Regions from separate parts of the Homo sapiens genome. Here regions 2, 3 and 4 are each linked to region 1. Evidence: promoter capture Hi-C in 16 types of primary human blood cells and fetal thymus (Javierre and others, 2016). All regions are on one chromosome and are shown on one strand. Each heading gives the region's core, a stretch centred on a gene start or on the middle of the fragment in contact. The rest is flanking DNA. Distances are from core to core; before and after follow the strand shown. Region 1 holds the start of TOP2B (DNA topoisomerase II beta). Region 2 overlaps UBE2E1 (ubiquitin conjugating enzyme E2 E1). Region 3 overlaps LRRC3B (leucine rich repeat containing 3B). Region 4 has its middle 6.0 kb from the start of RPL15.

Region 1 (3,581 bases), core at 1-2,500:
GTATTAACTGCTGTGAAAGTCATCCCCAATGCGCTCTCAATTGAGCGCATTGAATGAGGCTTTCCAAATTGAAGTGCAAGTTGCTGTAGAAATCCCAATGCATTCTTCTTTGAGATTAAAGCCCCAGAAAGAGCTGCATTTAGAATACACACACACACACACCCCTTTTCCCAGGGTTTTCTTGAACTACATTTGGAGAAAATGCTGCCCCACACAGACACACTTGCATTATCGCCATCCCCACCATTTCAGGTTCGGCTGCCCCGGAAGAGTCTGGTTAAAAAGAAAAGAGAGGAAGCGGGGGCTGTATGTTACGTTCGCGGTTTTGTCCCCCCAAAGTTTCAAGTACACATTACGCTCTGGCAGTCAGGACTTCCAGAGACGTACAGAGAAAGAAAGAAAGAAAAGGCGCGGGGAGCGGGCTGGAGGATTCTGCAAGCACAGGCCCCTATGGAGCGCCCGTTCGGGGGACGGGATTTCCCTCCCTTTCCCCTCCCCCGCCCGTTCGGAATTCCGCCCCCGCCGCGGGCCCGGAACAATGCAGCCGCCCGTCCCGGGGACCAGCCACTTACCACCCAGGTCAGTGCCCCGTTGCCGCCGCCCACGCCGGCTCCCGCGCCGCAGCCACCCGACTTGGCCATGGCGAGTGCCTCCAGCTCACAGGCCCTGAGGCCGCAGCCGCCGCTCCCGCCTCCCTGCGGGCCGCTGGGCCCCGCCGCTCCGCACCCACCGCTCCACTCGCCGCACTCCTAGCCGCGCCGACCCCCGCGCCCCATCGCGAAGATCCGGAGCGGACGTCCAGCCGAGCCCGCTGAGGAGGCCGCGCCGCCGGCTGCCCTCAAACTCGAGGCGCGGCGTCCGCGTCGCCCGGGCCTAGCGCGGCGGCTGAGGAGAAAGCAGGGAGCGACCGGCGGCGGCCGAGCGGCGGCGTTGCCTTCTCGCCCGCCCGCGGGCGCCGCTGCAGGCCGGGCTGAAGCCCGGGCGTGCGAGCCGCGAGGGCGGCCGGGGAGCCCGAGGCGCTCGGACGTGGCGAGGACGCAGAGGTGCCTTGTCCTTCTCACACTCCGCGAAGGCCAGCCACTCGAGTCGCCAGAGTAGTCGTCCCGGTCGCCGCCGCTGCTTCAAAGGCAGCCTTAGCCTCGCTGCAGCCCCGATTTCCTCACACACACACACCGAGAGGGACAATAAACAGAGCCGCCGCCGCCGCCGCCACGGTCACCTCCCTCTTGTCCGGCATAACACCGCACACACACATTTGCACACCGGGGAGAGAGGGAGGGCGCGGCGGCCGCCCCCGCTGTCAGTCAGCGCCATGCTGTCCAATCCGGGCCTTGTCGCCACAGCCTCTCGGCCAATCCCAAAATTCCAAGCCCCCTGGAGGGGCGGGACCCGAGGGGGGAAACGTCATTGCGGGTAGCAACCGAAAGGAAGACTTGGGGTTTTTGTTTGTGTGTGTGTCTGTGGGTTTTCCATTTGAAGGGAGAGCAGGGGCTGCTTCAAGGGTCAATTGAGGGCGGCAAAGGGAAAGGGTCGAATTGGCCTCGGGTCGATTGTAATCCTCCAAGCGTGCTGTTTACTCTGAGACCTAACCGGGAATCCGAAGCGTTTGCCTGGGGCCTCTAAGGATGAGGATGGGGGCGGGGTGGGGATGGGGGTGGCAGGAAGAAGCCGGGGGCCGTCCCAAAGGGAAATTATTTTAAAAGAGCGGTTGTAAACCGCAGGCAAGACGTTGTAGACCACTGGTGCAAGGAGGCCCCGTGACCCGGCCTCCCCAAGGGCCTAAGTGGACGCTGCTGTCGAAAAAAATCATCTCAGACCTTCTCCATCTCCTTCTTCCGTCTCCTCCCCTCACCCCAAAAGAGCATATGGTCAGTTTCAAGAAAACTACATATGAAAAGCTTAAATGATAAGGGACACACAGAGAATGTTCTAGGGAAAGAATGCAGGGTGGGTTGAGTGTTCTATTTCTACTCTTTGTTGACCTTTCTTCTCTGAACAATGCAGAGATGTCACTGTCACTTTTCTCATCTGTCCAGAACTGTGCCCCCTGCCTCTAAGAGGGCATGCTTAATTTTTAAAACTGTTTTCAGTGGAATTTTCAAATGCACAGTAAGGAATAATTTCATTCACATTAAAGCTTTCTAAGAATGAAAATTACCAATACAGCAACATCACAGTCTTTGGCAGATGGAAGATGGCTTTACTTCTTCCTGTTTTTCAGTGTAATTCCACTCAAGTATTTATTGGGCGCACACTCTGCCACGCTGTGCCAGGCTCTGCGATGGGTTCAAAGTAAAAACAAGGCCCCTGATTTCAAACCATTTATAACCTGGCTTGTGAGACAGACTAAAAGGGAGCCAACGATCACCAAAATGAGTACTTGAAGGCATGAAGTGCCACCAAAGAGTTGTGATGAAAGCTTTTTATAAAGATGAAAACAGTATTACTGTTTTTTGAAGAGGTGTTTTTGTGAACTTCCAACTGTGCATTTCCTCTCAAGGGAAAACAAAAATGTCTCAGGTCACATCTTTAAACTGCATTCTGAGTCTAGAGGTGGAGAACTCTGAAACATGGAAATAATTTAAACATAGTTTTTTTAATTAGCTCTCTGATGGCCATGTAACTTTGCCATACTAGGGACTTCAGAACAGTGAAGCCTTTCTTTACCTTGAACTTGGGGTGCAAACTTTTCTGAACCTGACCAAGTATCCATAGCCTTGTTATTTAACTTCCCTGAGCCTCAGTTTAGTGCTTGTTAAAATGATCTTGTGTTCTTACTGTGAGTTTGCATCTCCAAGTACACATGTATTTTGTTTGAAAAGGGGTAATTTTAAAGGCAATGAGTTTTTTTTATGAAGATGTACTAGGTAGAAGCTAAGCTATAAAATACATAGCTGTCTCCTTTTTTAAACTTAAGTTGTCAAAGCTCTTTATCTTCCGTTTTTGTTGTTGTTTTTAGAGACAGAGTCTTGCTCTGTCACCCAGGCTGGAGTACAGTGGCATGATCTCGGCTCACTGCACCCTCCACCTCCCAGGTTCAAGCAATTCTCCTGCCTCAGCCTCCCAGGTAGCTGGGATTACAGGCACCGGCCACCATGCCTGGCTAATTTTTTTTACTTTTACTAGAGACGGGGTTTTCACCATGTTGGCCACCCTGGTCTCGAACTCCTGACCTCAAGTGAGCCGCCCATCTTGGCCTCCCAAAATGCTGGGATTACAGGCATGAGCCACCGCACCCAGCCTAGGTTCAGATTTTGAAATGAATAAAACAATATATTCAAAACTCAAATAGATTAATAAAAATAATGTTCTTTTCACTTGCCTCATATGTGAGGCATTGAGTCCTTTTGTCTTCTCAGTATGAAAAAGCCTTTTAATAAGTGTTACTAGTTTTAAGAAAATACTGACTTACCCAGAAGAATTGCAAATAAGAATTGCTGAATATACATGAAAATCAACATTTTTAAAGCAGAGATTTGTGATGAGTGGAAGACGGAATCTAGATTAAAAGTATCTCAGCTTCTAAAGAATTGTCCTTTTTAACTGTGCAGCAGACTTAGCATATCTTTATGATAAAATTG
Region 2 (3,660 bases), core at 66-2,565, 1.9 Mb before region 1:
TTTAAAAAATAGTGTGGAGGTCTTAAGTGGCAAGGTGCCTCTGCAAGATTGTTCTCATTTTTATAGGTTTGGTTTGATTGTACAGCTTCTCAGGAGGCCTGACTGACCCTCACTGATTAGCCCTGTGCGGTTTTCCTGGAACCTGACATCTACTCTGCCCACTTGGGACGGGCCCTTCCTTAATACTGCGCCCCACCTCAATCCTCTAGGCTCTCTGATCCTCATTCACGTTTTGGCCTCACGTGCTCAAGCCAGGATACTTGCTTTTGGTAATTTGCATTTTTATATTTTGCTAGATATCCCTGGTGTACATGAATATATTTGGGGGTAAAGACACAGGTATCAAATAGAAAATACTCTGCTTTTGTTGTGAGTGAATTACAGAGAGGGGGATTTTTTTCACTAGACATACTTTGTTTATTTTAAACAAGTTAAGAATTTATTTGGAAGTTCTGGAAAAGAGATGATAGGTGTAGAAAAATGAAAGGTGGGAAGCTACAAATAGTAATTTTACCTATAAATTAACATCAGGGCTTTTGTTTTGTTTTTGCAATGAATTTAGCTCCTTGATAATCTTGCTGAAAGAGTAGCTATTAGTGTTAAAGCAGACCTAAAGTTAATAGAAAAAGGTAAAAAAATGGAGAGGGACAGTGTATCCAGGAAAGAGAATGGGGAAAATTGATGTTAGTGGGACCCTATAGAGGCTGTTCTGTGAAGTATATTGATTTGGAAGGTAGGTGTTGCCCATAGAATTGGAAGGGGCACATTCACCAGGAGTAGGAGTGAAAAAGAAGCCTGAATTGGCAGACTAACAGGCTGCTAACTGCATGTTGGAAAGTGGTTTCTAAACCGTGGGTAGAGGAAAGCCCCCATTGCAAGTGGTCTGAACAAGAATGACTCTCTGGAAATAGGTATGAGTTACTCCTGCAAATCTCTTGCCAGTTTTTTGGAAATGCAAATGCTGTCTGTCAAGATGAAGTTGATAAAGCTTTTTGGTATTAACGCTTCTTAGGTATTAAAGAAACAACTACCTTTTTTTGTGACTATTTTATAGTGGGAGTTGGGTTGGCAAGGAGGACTGAAGTCAATATGTATTTTTATATGCGTTGTGCTCCGGGGAGGAAATTTTTGCCTACGTGTGTAGGTCTTAAAATACAGTTATTTGAAAAGATTCAGGTAAAGAATCAGGAAACCAATTTTCCAAACTTTGAGTCTAATGTACAGTCATGAGTCAAACAGCGGGAGTATGAATGTCTCAGAAATGAAACGCTTTTTGATAGTAGAATTTAGCAGGACACAAATACGTGTCAATTGAGATTGTGAACAAACCCCTTTCTAAAGTTGACAGATACGTAGGGACAGGAAATGTCCTCCAGTAGGAAGGTTTATAGAACCTCCCCCAGTCGTCGTCCTTAAAACCTGTTCCTCATTACATATAGCTCGTCCGTCCTCCTACCCGCAGAAAACCTTTGGAAAGGAAAACGTATCCTTTGTGAATTAGATTGCTCTGTGTGTGTGTTTAAAATTTTTTTAACTACAGTGCTGCCTCGGTGAGATTTTTAAGTTGTAACATAGCCCCATTGGGCTTTATATGATAGGAGGAGGAAAGGTTATAAAATTAGGCACCGTTTAGAAGGTGGAAGAAGCTTAGAGGCCCTAAACTGTCGTATTAATTGATGCTCTAAGTGCCTAGGTAAGCAAAAGACAAAGGCCAGGGCTTGGTGTGAACTGCCTGGTGGCTTCGGCCTATGAGTGGGGGATGGGGCCCTTTGTGAAGTCGAGGGTTGGTGCGGAGGGAGAAAACTGCAGGTCTCCAGTCTATCCCCAGTGTGAGCTAGAGAGCGGACCATGAAGGAAGTGGGCAGACCCCGGGAAGTTAGAGGACGCCCGGGGAAAAGCAGGTCCGGGGAGGTGGGCCGAGAGTCCCGGCCAGCGTGCGGGGCGGAGGCAGGGTCCGGTGCACCTGTGCGGCCGCGGGCCGGCCACTTGGGGTCTGTGGTGCCCGAGTGGCGGGCGGGGGTGTTCGCGCCCTGCTTTCGCGCGCGGTCTCGGGCCAAGGTTCTGGGCGCCGGGAGAGGAGAGCTGGGGCGGCGCGGAGCAGCCCCCGTGCGGGCACCCTGTTCCCCTCCCCCGCCCGCAACTTCACCGGCGCGGCGCGAGCCGTCGGGGGCGCGCGCGGGGTGGGGGCGGCGTGGCCGGGCGGTGGCAGCCCACCGCTGGGGAGCGACCTGCGGTCTGGGCCTCCCGGGCACCCCGCCACGGCTGGCAGGTCACTCGGGCCCGAGGGGCCTCGTGGGGAGCGGCCATGTTGGCTTCGTCACTGAGGACTCCGGGCGGGTCGGGTGTTGAGCGAGGCCTCGGACCTTCGGCCTGTCGGGGGCGCCCTGCCGGGGTGGGCATGGGGGCATCTGAGGGGTGAAAGGGGCAAGGGAGGCTGGAGGCTGGCGTCCTTCCCACGCACCGATGGCTGTGATCTCTCCGTGCTGGGGAGAGGTGCAGGGGAGGGACTGAGGAAACCGGTCGGCAAGTGAGAAACTTTAAAATTAGGTCCTACATGGAAAACACCGAGGAATAGAACTGCCCTGGTGTGCGAGGCAAGGTTGGAAGCCAAACTTTGCAGATGAGAACAGGAGATTCCAGGCTGCCTCACTTCCTCCGTGAAAAGTTTTTTTCCTAAACTAGGGACCTGAAGTTCTTGATGTGTAGTTCCTCTTTGCCCAGTAGAATCCAGTGATCGCGCTTAGGTTTATCTGCAGACCTGCACGCTACAGGTGGGAGGCTTCCGCGCCTTAATGCTTCTTGTGTTTGTCTTTCCCATTTCTCCCACTCCAGAATTCAGAAGGAGCTGGCGGACATCACTTTAGACCCTCCACCTAATTGCAGGTGAGTTGCTTTTCGGATTTTTTCCATTTTTAAAATTCTTCTAACCTTTGTCTTGGGTTTTTCTTTTTATTATATACTTTTTCTTTGATTCTTTGGCTAATGCTTGTTATGGCACTAACATCACGTAACAGCTGAAATTTATTAACCTGAGTATAATGTTTTGATGAGCCTCTGACAAGCTCAGTACTGTTGAGAAGAAGTAATGGATTTATTTGGAGTGGATTTTTACATATATGAAACAAAACTAAAGTAAATTTAAAGGTGTCTCCTTGCCTAATCATGGGTCTTTGATATGCCATTAAAGATGATGTAAAACCTTTCAGATGCGAAGGACATTTTGGTTTGGAAAACTGCTTTGCTACAGTAATCTCTTATTCAATCTCTGCTAAGCTAAGAGAACATTAGAGTTAAACACTGGATCTTCAAACTTACTCCATAGCATATAGATTTTTTATTAGACTTTTGGCAGAGCAATTCAGGAAACAATTTCTGGCTTTGATAAAGGTTTTCTTTTAAATTGTAGAGTTAAACTTTCATGGGGTGTTTTTTTCACTTGCTTTATTCAGACTGTATACATATGTGTGTTTCAGTTTCAAAACAAATTGAAACCAGCTTTCTAAGGGTTTGTTGATCACAGCTTTATTTAGAGAAGCCATTTTGCTACTGTTGAGTCAAGGTGGAAGACTTGATGACTTTACTAGATCAACAATGAAGTGAGGGTAACTTACAACTATGTATTAGAATAGAACCATTTATTTAAGGGAGGTCCTGTAACTC
Region 3 (3,625 bases), core at 527-3,026, 1.0 Mb after region 1:
ATATGAAGTGTCCTCCAGAAAAGGCTTCTCATCTTTCAGCATGTTTTAGGCTGGTTGCATATACTCAATGGATGGAAATCACTTGGCTGATGTGGACTCCCTTTATTTTCTTCAATTACATTAATTAATTTCTTCCATCTCCTGTGTTTTTCTCATGCCCTTTTCCTAGAATTCGTTGCCTTGTCCTTCTACTCCTCTGTCTCCTCTCTTCCCTTCCACACCTGTTTTTTTTTTTCTTTCCCATCTAGATTCCTAGAGTCCCCAAGTACCATGCAATACAGTTTTGAAGGGAAACATGAAAAGGAGGACACTTTCATTGCCAATGAAATGATCTGTTGATGGAGGGCTTAGTAAGCTTAGGGTCTCTCTTTAGCATTCTCTGGTATTTAAGGGACTCGACTCAGTTTTCCAAAAGCACGTCTGCTCCATTCTGCTGTTGCTAATCTCATTTTTTCCATGATTAACAATCCAGATCATTATGTTTTCAGCTCACATTAATCTTCTCTTCTGTGAGTTTGGTAACATTTGGAGTCATTTCCCTTTGTATTTATCCATCTGGGATCTTCATAAAAGACAAGTTTTCAGAAAGTCATTAGTTGCTCATGCAGAAAGTTGTTTGTTGTCCACTGCTGTAAGAGGACTGAATGCTCTTCTTGTTTCTTAGATCCTGGGAGGGAATCTTCTAAGTCAGGCATGGGTTCCCTACAAAATGCAGAGGGACCCCTCACTTGAGCTCCATGGGGTCCTCAACTTGGAACAGTATTCATAGCATAAAAGATAGGGCTGCAACATAACAGCATCAGAAATCACAATAAGCAATACTTGCTGGATACTTATAGAGTAGATGAGACTGGAAGAGAGTGTGTGGATAGTGGAAAGAGTTTTGATATTAATGAGTCAGAACAAAGACTTTGGCTTGAGTCCTGTCTCTACACCTCAATCTGTTTGACCTTGGGTAAGTAACCTCATCTCTCTGGGATCCACTTGTCTCCTTTGTGAACTGGTCCCAAAGATGTGTGCTTTCTTCTCTATATTAAAGGGTAATTTTGAGAGTTAACTTATATTCTTATCTCTGCTGTCGAGTAAGTTTCATAACTTTGTTCATCACTTAATTTTGCAATTTCTGTAGCCCCTGCCAACACTAACAGTATATGTATGCAACATGCAACATATGGAGAGTGAAGTCTATTGGGGAAGTCTTCAAAGACAGTATTTCTTAATTCTCTTGTTATATAAAAAAGTCATGGAGGTGTGTGCCATATTTAAGCATTTATTGGGAAGGGGATATGGTCCTTAGAAAAGAGAGAGAAGATCCTCTGGAAATTCAGTTAAAAGCATCCTCCCAGGTATAATGTACTTTAAAGAGGTCACAAGGAAGGCAACTATCCTGGAGGTTCTTGGTTGTCAGCCTCTAGCAATATTTTGTTGGAATGCATTTATTATTTTCTTAATTCAAGTAAGATGTTTCTTTAGAGACAATATTCCAAATTGGGCATCCATTCAAAAGCCATGACAGATATCCCTGTCTATAGTCATTAACCATGAAATATTGGTATTATTTCTCATTGCTGCCCAAGTGCAGGACTAAATTACATTAATGCATCTGTTATCTCAGAAAGGGTGAGAGACATAATTAAATTTTATTTCTGTAGAATTCGAAGGGGTCCAGGATGTGGAGAGCAGCAGAGAAATAGGGAGTATTTGTTCTCATTCTATCCAACTGAAAACCAGGCAACAGAACTCAGAAATATCTTCATATGTTCACAGTTCTCTCCCCCAGCACCTGGGATTTGAACAGGAGACTCCCATTTCGCAGATAACTCCCAGTGGCATTGATGGAAATTACCTGCATAACTAACCCCCCTGCTCAAGCAGAATGCCAGACACCTGAGAACACCTTTCATTACAATGTACCTCCCTTTGCAAAGGAACTAATTGCATCTGTTTCTCTTTCCTTTAGGTGCCCAAGCAAGGAAAGAAATAATGAAGAGACACATGTGTTAGCTGCAGCCTTTTGAAACACGCAAGAAGGAAATCAATAGTGTGGACAGGGCTGGAACCTTTACCACGCTTGTTGGAGTAGATGAGGAATGGGCTCGTGATTATGCTGACATTCCAGCATGAATCTGGTAGACCTGTGGTTAACCCGTTCCCTCTCCATGTGTCTCCTCCTACAAAGTTTTGTTCTTATGATACTGTGCTTTCATTCTGCCAGTATGTGTCCCAAGGGCTGTCTTTGTTCTTCCTCTGGGGGTTTAAATGTCACCTGTAGCAATGCAAATCTCAAGGAAATACCTAGAGATCTTCCTCCTGAAACAGTCTTACTGTATCTGGACTCCAATCAGATCACATCTATTCCCAATGAAATTTTTAAGGACCTCCATCAACTGAGAGTTCTCAACCTGTCCAAAAATGGCATTGAGTTTATCGATGAGCATGCCTTCAAAGGAGTAGCTGAAACCTTGCAGACTCTGGACTTGTCCGACAATCGGATTCAAAGTGTGCACAAAAATGCCTTCAATAACCTGAAGGCCAGGGCCAGAATTGCCAACAACCCCTGGCACTGCGACTGTACTCTACAGCAAGTTCTGAGGAGCATGGCGTCCAATCATGAGACAGCCCACAACGTGATCTGTAAAACGTCCGTGTTGGATGAACATGCTGGCAGACCATTCCTCAATGCTGCCAACGACGCTGACCTTTGTAACCTCCCTAAAAAAACTACCGATTATGCCATGCTGGTCACCATGTTTGGCTGGTTCACTATGGTGATCTCATATGTGGTATATTATGTGAGGCAAAATCAGGAGGATGCCCGGAGACACCTCGAATACTTGAAATCCCTGCCAAGCAGGCAGAAGAAAGCAGATGAACCTGATGATATTAGCACTGTGGTATAGTGTCCAAACTGACTGTCATTGAGAAAGAAAGAAAGTAGTTTGCGATTGCAGTAGAAATAAGTGGTTTACTTCTCCCATCCATTGTAAACATTTGAAACTTTGTATTTCAGTTTCTTTTGAATTATGCCACTGCTGAACTTTTAACAAACACTACAACATAAATAATTTGAGTTTAGGTGATCCACCCCTTAATTGTACCCCCGATGGTATATTTCTGAGTAAGCTACTATCTGAACATTAGTTAGATCCATCTCACTATTTAATAATGAAATTTATTTTTTTAATTTAAAAGCAAATAAAAGCTTAACTTTGAACCATGGAAAACAGAGTGACTTATTGGTCAAGAAAACAGTATAGTCATTCTACTTGCTCTAAAGAAAAACAGACAACCTTTATGAACTCAAAGAACTATCACAATGAAAAAATGTGTTATTAAGCCCTACTGTACACTGGGGAGCCGTAGCTGAATTACTGGCCGAGTTAAGTGTCTGTCAGACTCTAAAATACTGAGCTTTACTAGGTGGTTATACACAAGTGTGGCATCCTTCAGAGGCTTAAGTCAGGATGCCTTTTGGCATTTACTCTTCAAAAATAGATATAATTAGCTATTGAATCCAAATACTTACTTATTGTACCTTTGCTCTATGCTGGACAAAATGGAAAAGAAAAAGACAGCACATAGCCTGTACTCAAGATTACTTTCTGGTGGACTGAGGTGTGTGTGA
Region 4 (3,811 bases), core at 743-3,242, 1.7 Mb before region 1:
CAGTAGTCCAAGGGATCCTATTAAATTGATCATGGCACTCCCGTGCAAAAAAATCAAAAGTCCTCATGATAGCTTTCATGATCTTCCCACTTTATGTGTGACCTCATGTCCTACTGCAGTCCACACCCCAGGCTCCTTGCTGTTTGTTCTTCAAATACACCAAACACTTCCTAATGCCTTTATGATGGGAAAGCTTTACTCCAATATTAAGGGTCACTTTATTAGCTATACCCTGACCGCCCCACAAGCTGTTCCCATTTGCTTTACTATTTCTATATTGGCATGTAATTCACACAGCAACATTGATTATTGAGTTTTTTTTTTTTTTTTTTTTTTTCCAGATGGAGTCTCACTCTCACTCAGGTGGGAGTGCAGTGGGGCAATCACGGCTCACTGCAACCTCTGTCTCCCGGGTTTGAGCAATTCTTCTGCCTCGGCCTCCCAAATAGCCAGGACTACAGGCGCACACTGCCATGCCCAGCTAAGTTTTGTATTTTTAGTAGAGACTGGGTTTCACTATGTTGGCCAGGCTGGTCTCGAACTCCTGACCTCAAGTGATCCACCTGCCTTGGCCTCCCAAAGTGCTGGGATTACAGGCGTGAGCCACCACCCCCAGCCCAATTTTTATTTTTTGTACAGACAGGATCTCACTATGTTGCCCAGGTTGGTCTCAAACTACTGGCCTCAAGCAATCCTGCCTTGGCCTCCCAAAGTGCTGGAATTATAGGAATGAGCCACCACACCGGGCCCAAATTTACTTTAGTAATAACAACAATTGGCTGGGTGCGGTGGCTCACGCCTGCAATCCCAACACTTTCGGTAACCAAGGTGGGCTTGAGCTCATGAGTTAGAGAGCAGCCTGAGCAACGTGGTGAGAGCCCATCTCACAAAAAATAACAAATCAGCTGGGCATGGTGTTGCACGCCTGTAGTCTCCGAAATCACACCACTGCACTCCCATCTTGGGTGATAGAGCCAGAACTTGTCTCAAAAATAACAATTGGTTTCTTACAATCCCAAAAGGTGCAGTTACTAGTATTAATCCTTTTTTGCCAATGAGGAAACACAAAGATGAAGCAACTTGCTCAAAGTCATACAGTGACAGTCTGAATTCAAATCCTATACACTTAAAGTTTATTTGTTTTGTTTTGGTTTTTTTTGAGATGGAGTCTCACTGTGTCGCAAGGCTGGAGTGCAGTGGCACGATCTCAGCTCACTGCAACCCGGGTTCAAGCGATTCTCCTGCCTCAGCCTCCCGAGTAGCTGGGACTACAGGCACGCACCACCACACCCAGCTAATTTTTGTATTTTTAGTAGAGACGGTTTCACCATGTTGGCCAGGATGGTCTCGAGCTCCTGACCTCAGGTGATCCTCCCGCCTTGGCCTCCCAAAGTGCCGGGATTACAGGTGTCAGCCACTGCACGTGGCCAACTTAAAGTTTTTGATAGATAATACATTAACGTTAAAAATTCAAAAGATAAGTATAGGCTCTACAGTACAAACCCTTCTGCCTCCTAGTTCCTCTCCCTGGAGGCAAGGTGATCAGTTTAACAATATTTTTTTATTTTGAGACAGGGTCTCACTGTTGCCCAGGCTGGAGTGTAGTGGCGCGTTCACAACTTACTGTAGCCTCAACCTCCTGGCTCAAGCAATCCTCCCACCTCAGCCTGTCGAGTAGCTGGAACCACAGGTGCACACCACCATGCCAGGCTAATTTTTGTATTTTTTGTAGAGACAGGGTTTCACCATGTTGTTCAGGCTGGTCTCAAAGTCCTGGGCTCAAGCAATCTTCCTGTCTCTGCTTCCCAAAGTGCTGGGATTACAGATGTGGGCCACGGTGCCTGGCCTACATATGTATTTTTTCCTTTTCTTCCCCAAGTGGTAGGATATGATACACATTGTTGATTTTTTTGTTTAGTTATGTATCTCAGAGCTTATTCTTTATCAGCTCATGAGGAACTTCATTTTTTTTTTTTTTTTTGAGATGTAGTTTTGCTCTTATAGCCCAGGTTGGAGTACAGTAACACAATCTTGGCTCGCAGCAACTTCTGCCTCCCAGGTTCAAGCGATTCTCCTGCCTCAGCCTCCGAGTAGCTAGGATTACAGGTGCCTGCCACTACATCCAGCTATTTTTGTATTTTCAGTAGAGACGGGGTTTCACCATTTTGGCCAAGCTGGTCTCGAACTCCTGACCTCAGGTGATCCGCCCATCTCAGCCTCCCAAAGTAGTGGGATTACAGGCATGAGCAACCGTGCCCGGCTGGAACTTCATTCTTTTGGTATAACTGCATGGTATCCCATCATGTGGATGTACCATGATTCATTGGATGTGGACCCTCCTGATGGACATTTAAATTTCTTCCAATCTGTTGCTATTACAAAAAGAAAAATGTGTGCATACATCTTTATTCATCTGTAGAATAAATTCTTAGAAGTAGAATGGCAGAGTTAAAAATTGTATGTATATAATTTTTTATAGATATTGCCAAATTGTCTTCCATAAAAGTTGAACCAATTTTCACTACCACCAGCAAAGTAGGAGAGGACTTGTTTATCCACACCCTCTTTAATGTATGTAATCAAATTTTGGGATATCTGCCAGTCTGTTAGGGGGAAATGATACTCTTCTCTACTTTTATTTTGCATTCTGAGTGTGGCAGAGGCAAAGCTATGTGCATACCATAGCTTTTTCTCCCCCTGAAAACACAACTAAACTACATTGTTTTCCTGGCCTCTCATGCATTTAGGTTGGGGTCATATTACTTCCCTCCAAGAAAAACAACAGTTGGTATGCCTCCTCCACACTTCCCACAACTGTGGAAGCCAGTGATCCAGATAGCATAGCTATTAATACAAGATGGGTGAAAGCTGCTCAACCGCATCAGACAGCATGAGTGGTAAGATTTTATTGTGTCAAACGACTGCATTAGTTGTGTTTTGTTATTATGGCAGCATAGCCTAGCTTAGCCCTAACTAATTCAATAAATAAAGTTGAGCATTATTTGTACATTTAAAAGCGTTTTTTATGTTTGCTTTACAGTGGCTTTCCACTTTTCTATCAGAGAATCCCCCCTCCCTTATGTACCATGCTATATTAATAAATTGGAAGGAGCTGCTAGCTCATTTCTCCTATGCTTCATAATTTTTCTGCTCATGAGATTCTTATTTTTTGAGACGAGTCTCTGTCACCCAGGCTGGAGTACAGTAGCACGATCTCAGCTCACTGCAACCTCCACCTTCTGGGTTCAAGTGATTTTCATGCCTCAGCCTCCCAAGTAGCTGGGATTACAGGTGTGCGCCACTACTAATTTTTTTGTACTTTTAGTAGAGGCGGGTTTGCACCATGTTTGCCAGGCTGGTCTATTACCCCTGATCTCAGGTGATCTGCGCCCGTCTTGGCCTCCCAAAGTGCTGGGATTACAGGAATAAGCCACCAAGCCTGGCCCTGCTCATAAGATTCTTGAAGGTAACTTTATGTAGAATAAATTCTTCAAATTTCAACTGTTCATTTTCGCCTTTCAATTCTAAGTTCTGATTTCATCTTTAAGTTCTGAAATTCCTAAACCAAATTAGTAGCTATATTGTATCAGGCAGACTAAATGAGGCAACAGTAATAGCCTCCAAATTTCAGTGGCTTAAAATAATAAAGATTTGTTTCTTGATCATACTTCATGTATGTTAAAGATTGTTCTCACTCTAGAATCCAGACTGTTAGAACAGACACTATCTGGAACATTGCGAGGTGTCCATGGCAGAGGGCAAAGAGCATGGCGTAGAACACCCTAACCTGTAAAGCTTCTGCTCAGGTTGT

The links. Contacts are between HindIII fragments. The CHiCAGO score rates a contact against its expected background, and 5 or more counts as called.
Region 2: a fragment that was not itself captured here is called in contact with the fragment with the promoter of TOP2B in region 1 in 6 of 17 cell types (total CD8 T cells, activated CD4 T cells, naive CD8 T cells and 3 more); the score reaches 11.8 in total CD8 T cells.
Region 3: a fragment that was not itself captured here is called in contact with the fragment with the promoter of TOP2B in region 1 in 1 of 17 cell types (fetal thymus); the score reaches 6.4 in fetal thymus.
Region 4: a fragment that was not itself captured here is called in contact with the fragment with the promoter of TOP2B in region 1 in 3 of 17 cell types (total CD8 T cells, non-activated CD4 T cells and naive CD8 T cells); the score reaches 7.5 in total CD8 T cells.

What each region holds. Positions count from the first base shown.
Region 1 is chr3:25,663,657-25,667,237 of GRCh38, forward strand. TOP2B (DNA topoisomerase II beta) reads right to left here and starts at 1,251. Exons shown (of 36, transcript NM_001330700.2): 1 at 573-1,251. The coding sequence starts at 641. It overlaps MIR4442 (microRNA 4442), which reads right to left and starts at 1,283; the gene lies at 1,217-1,283. RefSeq lists enhancers at 1-30, 988-1,551 and silencers at 318-506, 461-820. The HindIII fragment of the contact is 4,216 bases long and covers 1-1,896 here.
Region 2 is chr3:23,808,628-23,812,287 of GRCh38, forward strand. UBE2E1 (ubiquitin conjugating enzyme E2 E1) reads left to right here. Exons shown (of 6, transcript NM_003341.5): 3 at 2,833-2,883. Among named protein-coding and RNA genes, the nearest start is that of UBE2E1-AS1, 3.6 kb to the left of the region's middle. RefSeq lists an enhancer at 1,436-1,495 and a silencer at 1,966-2,285. The HindIII fragment of the contact is 658 bases long and covers 987-1,644 here.
Region 3 is chr3:26,707,553-26,711,177 of GRCh38, forward strand. It overlaps LRRC3B (leucine rich repeat containing 3B), which reads left to right. Exons shown (of 2, transcript NM_052953.4): 2 at 1,961-3,224. The coding sequence starts at 2,121. The coding sequence ends at 2,900. Among named protein-coding and RNA genes, the nearest start is that of LRRC3B, 87 kb to the left of the region's middle. The HindIII fragment of the contact is 2,847 bases long and covers 354-3,200 here.
Region 4 is chr3:23,921,257-23,925,067 of GRCh38, forward strand. It overlaps a transcript of NKIRAS1 not described here and a transcript of RPL15 not described here. Among named protein-coding and RNA genes, the nearest start is that of RPL15, 6.0 kb to the left of the region's middle. The HindIII fragment of the contact is 3,602 bases long and covers 192-3,793 here.